Regions from separate parts of the Homo sapiens genome. Here region 1 is linked to region 2. The links are contacts of gene promoters, found by promoter capture Hi-C in human tissues and cell types (Jung and others, 2019). All regions are on one chromosome and are shown on one strand. Each heading gives the region's core, a stretch centred on a gene start or on the middle of the fragment in contact. The rest is flanking DNA. Distances are from core to core; before and after follow the strand shown.

Region 1 (3,360 bases), core at 405-2,904, 270 kb before region 2:
ATTGGTTTGGTAGTCTTGACTGTAGGGCCAAAGACTGTCCTTTGAAATGTAGGTATGTGGGGCTGGGTGCGGTGGCTCATGCCTGTTATCCCAGCACTTTGGGAGGCCGAGGCAGGCAGATCACCTGAGGTCAGGAGTTTAAGACCATGCTGGCCAACATAGCGAAACCCCGTCTCTACTAAAAATATAAAAATTAGTTGGGCGTGGTGGTGCACACCTGTAGCCCCAACTACTCAGGATGCTGAGGCACGAGAATCGCTTGAACACAGGAGGCAGAGGTTGTAGTAAGCTGAGATCATGCCACTGCACTCCAGCCTGGGCAACAGAGTGAGACTCCATTTCAAAAAATAAGTAAACAAAACGAAATGTGGACATGTGATTAGAGCTTGATGTTTTCTTCTGTAAGTCCTCCCTATAATGAATATATCATCTCACTTCCAGCTTCAATTTCCTACAGATGGAGGGAGAACTTAGAGCCATTCACTACGCATTCCCACTGTCAAAGCTTTCTAGATTTCTGTAATTCATTCCAATCATTTACTGTTGTCTTACACCTAATTCTGTAGTAATTTGTTAAATTTATCTTCCTTTACTGAGTCTTTCTAAAGCATTCATCTTAATTTTCCTAGAAACAATTCTCTTTTCACACTTGCATTTCATTGGTTTCATATCAACCAAGTAATTACAACAACAGCTATATCTGAAAGAACCAGGCTTGGAAACAAACATGACTGGCTCTTGTGGACAGGAACATATGCAGCAGCAGACAGTGGTAGTGTGGCTACCCCATCCCATGTGCCATGGGGCACAGGGACTATGGAGGCATGTTTTATAAGGAAGTGAAGAGTGCCGGTCAATTTAGCAAGTCAGTCAAGTGGAAGCCAGTTACGAGCTTCCACTGTCATTATATTAGAAAAACTGTGAGGCAGAGCATTCTTGACACACAAGGACTTTACATACCAACAAGAAAAAGAAAAATCCCTCCACTATGGAAAAAATGGGGCAAAGCCACGAATAAACAATTCACAAAAAATTTACATTATCATTAAAGGCCAGGTGCGGTGGCTCACACCTGTAATCCCACCACTTCGGGAGGCCAAGGCGGGCAATCACTTGAGGTCAGGAGTTTGAGACTAACCTGGCCAATATGGTGAAACCCCGTCTCTACTAAAAATACACAAATTAGCCGGGCATGGTGGCGCATGCCTGTAATCCAAGCTGCTAAGGAGTTGAGGCAGGAGAATCACCTGAACCTGGGAGGCAGAGGTTGCAGTGAGCCAAGGTCGCGGCACTGCACTCTGCCTGGGCAACAGAGTGAGACATCGTCTCAAAAAAAAACAAAAAAAATTACCATTAAACATGGAAAGTGTGTGAACGCTTGATAATAATCACTGAAATGCAAATTCCTTGCCAAATCTGCAGATACATCTTTTTGACGCTGACAGCCAGTGTGGGTAAGATTTCAGAGAAACGGGCACTCTCATACAATGCTAGTAGTAGGTGTATAAATTGAGGGCAACTGGAATATGAACCAGAAGTCTATAAAGAATTTAATATCTGATTTACCTCTAGGAATTTATCCTAAGTGATCAACACAATTATTTCTATACACTAATTTTAAACAACAGCACAGAAAAGGGCAAGTACAAAATATCTATCAACACAGGATAAGTTAGTTTATGCTGCATGCATAAAATAGGATATATTTTAAAAGCCACTCAAAATATTTTTGGAAAAAATATTTAAGTTTGAGAATATACTCGCAATAATATATTAAGTGTTTATATTACATTCCAGTATATAGGCATGGTCCCAACTATGAAAAAATAGAAGACGAGGAGGAATTTCACCAAACTGTGAACAGTAGTTAACTCAGGGTGGTGGGATTTTAAGTGCTTTAAATTTACTTTTCTTTTTTTTTTTTCTCGAGACGGAGTCTCGTTCTTGACACTCAGGCTGGAGTGCAATGGCGTGATCTCTGCTCACTGCAACCTTCACCTTCCGGGTTCAAGCAATTCTCCTGCCTCAGCCTCCTGAGTAGCTGGGATTACAGGTGCCCGCCACCACACTCGGCTACTTTTTTTGTATTTTTAGTAGAGATGGGGTTTCACCATGTTGGCCAGGCTGGTTTCGAACTCCTGACCTCAGGTGATAAGCCTGCCTCAGCCTCCCAAAGTGCTGGGATTATCGGCGTGAGCCACCGTGTCTGGCCTTACATTTTCTTTATACTTCTCTATATTATGGTATATTTCTCACAAAAAATGTGGATTGTTGTTATTACTAGAAAACAATGACAAACATAAAAAAGCTTTAATAGAAGCCAATTGAAATTTTTTTTTTTTTTTTTTTGAGTTGGAGTCTCACTCCATCGCCCAGGCTGAAGTGCAGTGGTGCGATCTAGGCTCACTGCAACCTCCAGCTCCCAGGTTCACGTGATTCTCCTGCCTCAGCCTCCTGAGTAGCTGGGATTACAGATGTGAGCCACTGCGCCTGGCTAAGTTTTTTTTTTTTTTTTTTTTTTCATTTTCAGTAGAGACGGGGTTTTGCCATGTTGGCCAGGCTGGTCTTGAACTCCTGGTCTCAAGTGATCTACTCACCTCAGCCTCCCAAAGTGCTGGGATTACAGGCAGGAGCCACCGCGCCTGGCCCTAAACTTACATAATTGATAATTTAACATGAAAAAGCATGCTGGGGAGGGAGGCTTCCTTCAGGCTGTCCTGAAAAGGCACTTGAGTGCCTCCCTCTGGTGCGTCAACCTCGTGGCCATGAGCATACAACTTTGGCAGACCAGGCCCACACAGGAAATTAAACCAAAGTCATGAATACAGAAATGCTTTTCTTCTCAAATGCCATTTGACCTCTTCTATCAAACATTCTGCCGCATCTGGATTTGATCAAAGTTACATAATCGGGGAAGTGGCCTGGAAAACACCTGGAATAAGCAGAATGCAGATCCCCGCCCAGAGGTGGCCATCCACTTGAAGTGTGGGTTAAAGTGGGATGGTCCCGAACATGTCGACAGATGCTGGGAATGTTATGCAAGAGGATGAGGCCTTTGTTAGGAAGGAAAGGGCCTCCCACTGCTTTTTGATTCAACAGGACGTCAGGCGATCCAAGGCAGTCTCTCGACTTTCCTCTCCAGTTCTTGCTCTATTCCACAAATTAATGGCTAAAGCCCAAAGGGAAGTATTGCTCATGCATGCCTCTGGACCGAGACACTGAAGTGTAGCCACAGTCCAACACCAAAACCTTCCAGTCAATTCCCAATCCAGGCTGATGTCAAAATTGACTCACAATGTATAAATGCCAAGTTACTTGCTTCATTTCATAGTGAACTATGCTCGTCAACCTTAAAAATGA
Region 2 (3,259 bases), core at 704-3,203:
AAAATTACCCACCAACCTGGTTTTTCTTTAGTTTTTAAAGGCCATCAAATCCTTGGAGATAGTATGGACCTCCAGCTGTTAACATTCAGAAGGAACACACTTACAGCCCTGTCTCCATTGGGCTTATTACTGCTCCAGTCAATGGTGCATTTCAGAGCTGAGAACAATTCCAATGAAGTTTTCACTGCTAGTAGTAAACACCACTGCTTCAACAATCCACATTAGGTCAGCATTTACCAGAGGGTCTCCCTCTGGAGCAGGTTGTCCAAGAATATGAGTTCAACCACTGGCTCAAGAGAAGCGGAATGTCTTCTCAATGGTTCAAAATTCACTTTATGTTCAACTACAGGCCTTCTGCAAACTGAGGATCTGAGCCCTTTAGGGCAGTGACTATAATTCTTCCCGGACATAGAAGGCCAACAAGGTGACTGTCACACATCAGCACAGAGCGAAAGCCATTACATATTAGTAGCCAGTGAGAAACAAGGTTCAGGACCCTGTACTGTAGAGGAGAGCACTGTAACACGCCAGCAAGCAGAGTGGTGGAAGGGGAGCTGGGTGGCATGTTCATCCATTACAGCCATGGGTGGATCTGAAGTCTAAGTAAGATGGATACTCACTACTGTACTGGTTGGCAGCTAGGCAGTAAAGTAACAATTCATCAGATAAAATTTTAGGTGGAACCACAGGTTTGGAAAGTTCTGGGATCCAATATAATGTCTATAGGAGCATCAATATATAACATGAAAAGTCAGTTATCAGGGAAACAGGTAGGGTTCCCTCCCCTGGAATACTGGAAAGAGATGTAAAGACCATATCTTCAAGCGCCCGAGTGAAGACCTTCTTCTAATACAATGACTCCTGTGGCTTTCTGTTAGGAATCAAGCAGTAATTAGTTATAGCCCAACTTTTAAAGTATCAGTGCGCTTACAATTACATAAGAAGAGAGGAGGACATAAGACACTTAACCGAGGAAGCTGAAGTGTTAGGGCTGACTTGTAAGTAAGTTTTAGATACAAATGAAGAACACGTTCTGTTCTAAGTACCATGCCAGAAGCCAGTAAGTATTTTTGGCAGGTCCCATATTCACTCTCTGGGGAAGCCTGGAGCCTTCTAAAACCCAGTTAATTTAACTTTGATTAAATGCACGACATTGTCAGACAGTAAAGTTTCAATGTCGGAATGAGGCCATATCATTCTCCCCAGTAGAGGCAAGCTTGCCATGAGAAATTTCTACATCTTGGGGACCACCCCCACACATGTAACACCTCCCTCTCTCACCTCTCCAAAGAGCACCCTCACATATAAGATGCCCTCGAGTTCCTTCTACTCAACAGAAAGTCTAAAGACGATGTTCCCCAAGTTTTAACAAGCTACTGGGCGTCAGACAGCTGCTTTATGTCTACACCCAGATCCTCCCCGTGGGCTTCCCGGACCCCTCCCCTCGCGAGGTTCAGAACCCCGCGCTAGCTACACTGTGGGTCCAGGCTGGCCGCTGGGGCACGATGGGGCCAGACGCTCTAAGCAAACCCTTTCCCAGCGACTTCAGGCACCTGGGAGACCCGCCCGACAGGCCGGGCCTGGGCCTCGCAGTGGCGCCTTATCCCCCCGGCTCCTCCCGGCTGTAGGAACTCCACGGAACGGCCCGGCCCGGCTGAGACGTCGGTTCAGGCTGCCTCCCGCCCCCCAGGCCCGAACCCCTCTTCCCCGCCCGCCAGGCCCCGCCTCGGGATCTCGTGCTCCTGCCAGCCGGCTGCGCCCGTACCTGCCGGACCCGGTGCAGGGCATCCACGAAGCCCTCGGCCTTCATCCCCACAGGAGCGCTCTGCCCCTGCACCAGCTCCGCCATTACCGCCCCCGCCGCCGTCGCCGCCGCCGCCGACGCCGCCGACGCCGCCGCTCGGCTCCCCGGTCCGGCCTCCCGCTCCGCTTGGGGACCCGTAGCCGGAAAAGGAAAGTCGCCCTACTTCCGGCGGAAGGGAAAGCCGGGACGCTCGCAGCTGGAGGAGTCGCGTCTGCGGGGCGGGGTCAGGGCACGTGACCTTCGACCGATCGGAAGTGGGGGCGGGACGGCAGCGCCGGGGTGGGCTCAGATCGCCAGGCAGCCGTGGGTCTCCAGGGTCCGGTCGCGACCCTTCCCTTCCCGGGCGGGATTTGGTCCAGGACCGTCGATGGCGTCTTGACAGGTCCCCGAGGCTTGGATGTGGTCCCGAGGTGTCCGCTGTCGGCCGTTTGGAATCTCAGAGGGACTGACGTGGCTCTCCCAAGACGGCACCCCGAACAGTCGTGGTTCATCAAAAGCCTGGTCCTGGGTAGCCCCTCCCTGAAATGGCTGTTGGTTGGGAATTTGGGGGCTGAGCGCTTTGAAAGGGCATTGGGACAGCATCACAGAATGTCAGTGTCCCACATTTGCGAGGAGTCCCGGGCCCCAGTTCTTACACTGCAGTTTGCATGAGGATGGGCCACCGCCACTTCCGCCTGGGGTTGTCTGGTGATGCCCCCAGGAGAGACGCGCCCACTGAAAAGCCAGCGTGGTGTCCTCTTACACGGTCCTTAACAAACTCTGGGACTCTGGGGGTGCAGGAAATACCACAGGACCGTCATTACTCCCATACCGGCTGAGTCACAACTGTATTGCAGGAGGCTTCTTGGAACGCCTATGTAACTTTAATGGAAGTGACCAGGTACAGATCTTCTACAGCAAGGAAGGAATCTTAGTGCTAGAATTCAGTTGAGCCTTTGAGTTGGCTCTTCTTATAAGTGAGCAAACAAGTAACAAGGTTTAGGGGGCGCCCATTTTTGTGTTAGCACGATTGCCCTCGTGTTTAATATTTCCCAAGCCCTATTATGATAAGGAGTTGGACTTAATGAAGAACCATGTTGTCAAACATCTTATGCCCATCTTGAAGTTGTGAAGGAGGATGAGCACCAAGAAAAGGAAATAAATAAAATCCAATACGGGCCGGGTGCGGTAGCTCACGCCTGTAATCTTAGCAGTTTGGGAGGCCAAGGCAGGCAGAACTCTTGAGCCCAGAAATTCAAGACCAGCCTAGGCAGCATAGTGAGACCCCGTCTCTACAAAAAATATAATTAGCTGGGCGTGGTGGCAAACACCTGTAGTCCCAGCTACTTGGGAGGCTGGAGTGGGAGGATCACCTGAGCCCTGGAGGTCAAGGCTGCAGTGAGCTATGATCACGCCACTGCAGTACAGCGTGGGTGACAGAGCAAGACCCTTTCTTGGGGAAAAAAGTCCCATATA

What was found. The method cuts DNA at HindIII sites, captures the fragments that hold promoters and counts their contacts. A contact is called where the count stands out against the background at its distance.
Region 1: a contact is called between a fragment that was not itself captured here and the fragment with the promoter of FUBP3 in region 2, in 2 of the 25 tissues and cell types used here (bladder and hippocampus).

What each region holds. Positions count from the first base shown.
Region 1 is chr9:130,847,507-130,850,866 of GRCh38, reverse strand. The region is part of intron 1 of ABL1 (ABL proto-oncogene 1, non-receptor tyrosine kinase); the gene reads right to left. Among named protein-coding and RNA genes, the nearest start is that of ABL1, 14 kb to the right of the region's middle. RefSeq lists a silencer at 2,911-3,205 and an enhancer at 2,797-3,360. The HindIII fragment of the contact is 3,204 bases long and covers 53-3,256 here.
Region 2 is chr9:130,578,271-130,581,529 of GRCh38, reverse strand. It overlaps FUBP3 (far upstream element binding protein 3), which reads right to left and starts at 1,953. Exons shown (of 19, transcript NM_003934.2): 1 at 1,766-1,953. The coding sequence starts at 1,849. It overlaps LOC100272217 (a long non-coding RNA gene), which reads left to right and starts at 2,036. Exons shown (of 1, transcript NR_027440.1): 1 at 2,036-3,259. LOC124902286 (a long non-coding RNA gene) reads right to left here and starts at 1,690. Exons shown (of 2, transcript XR_007061818.1): 1 at 1,282-1,690; 2 at 1-871. RefSeq lists a silencer at 1,636-2,005. The HindIII fragment of the contact is 10,079 bases long and covers 502-3,259 here.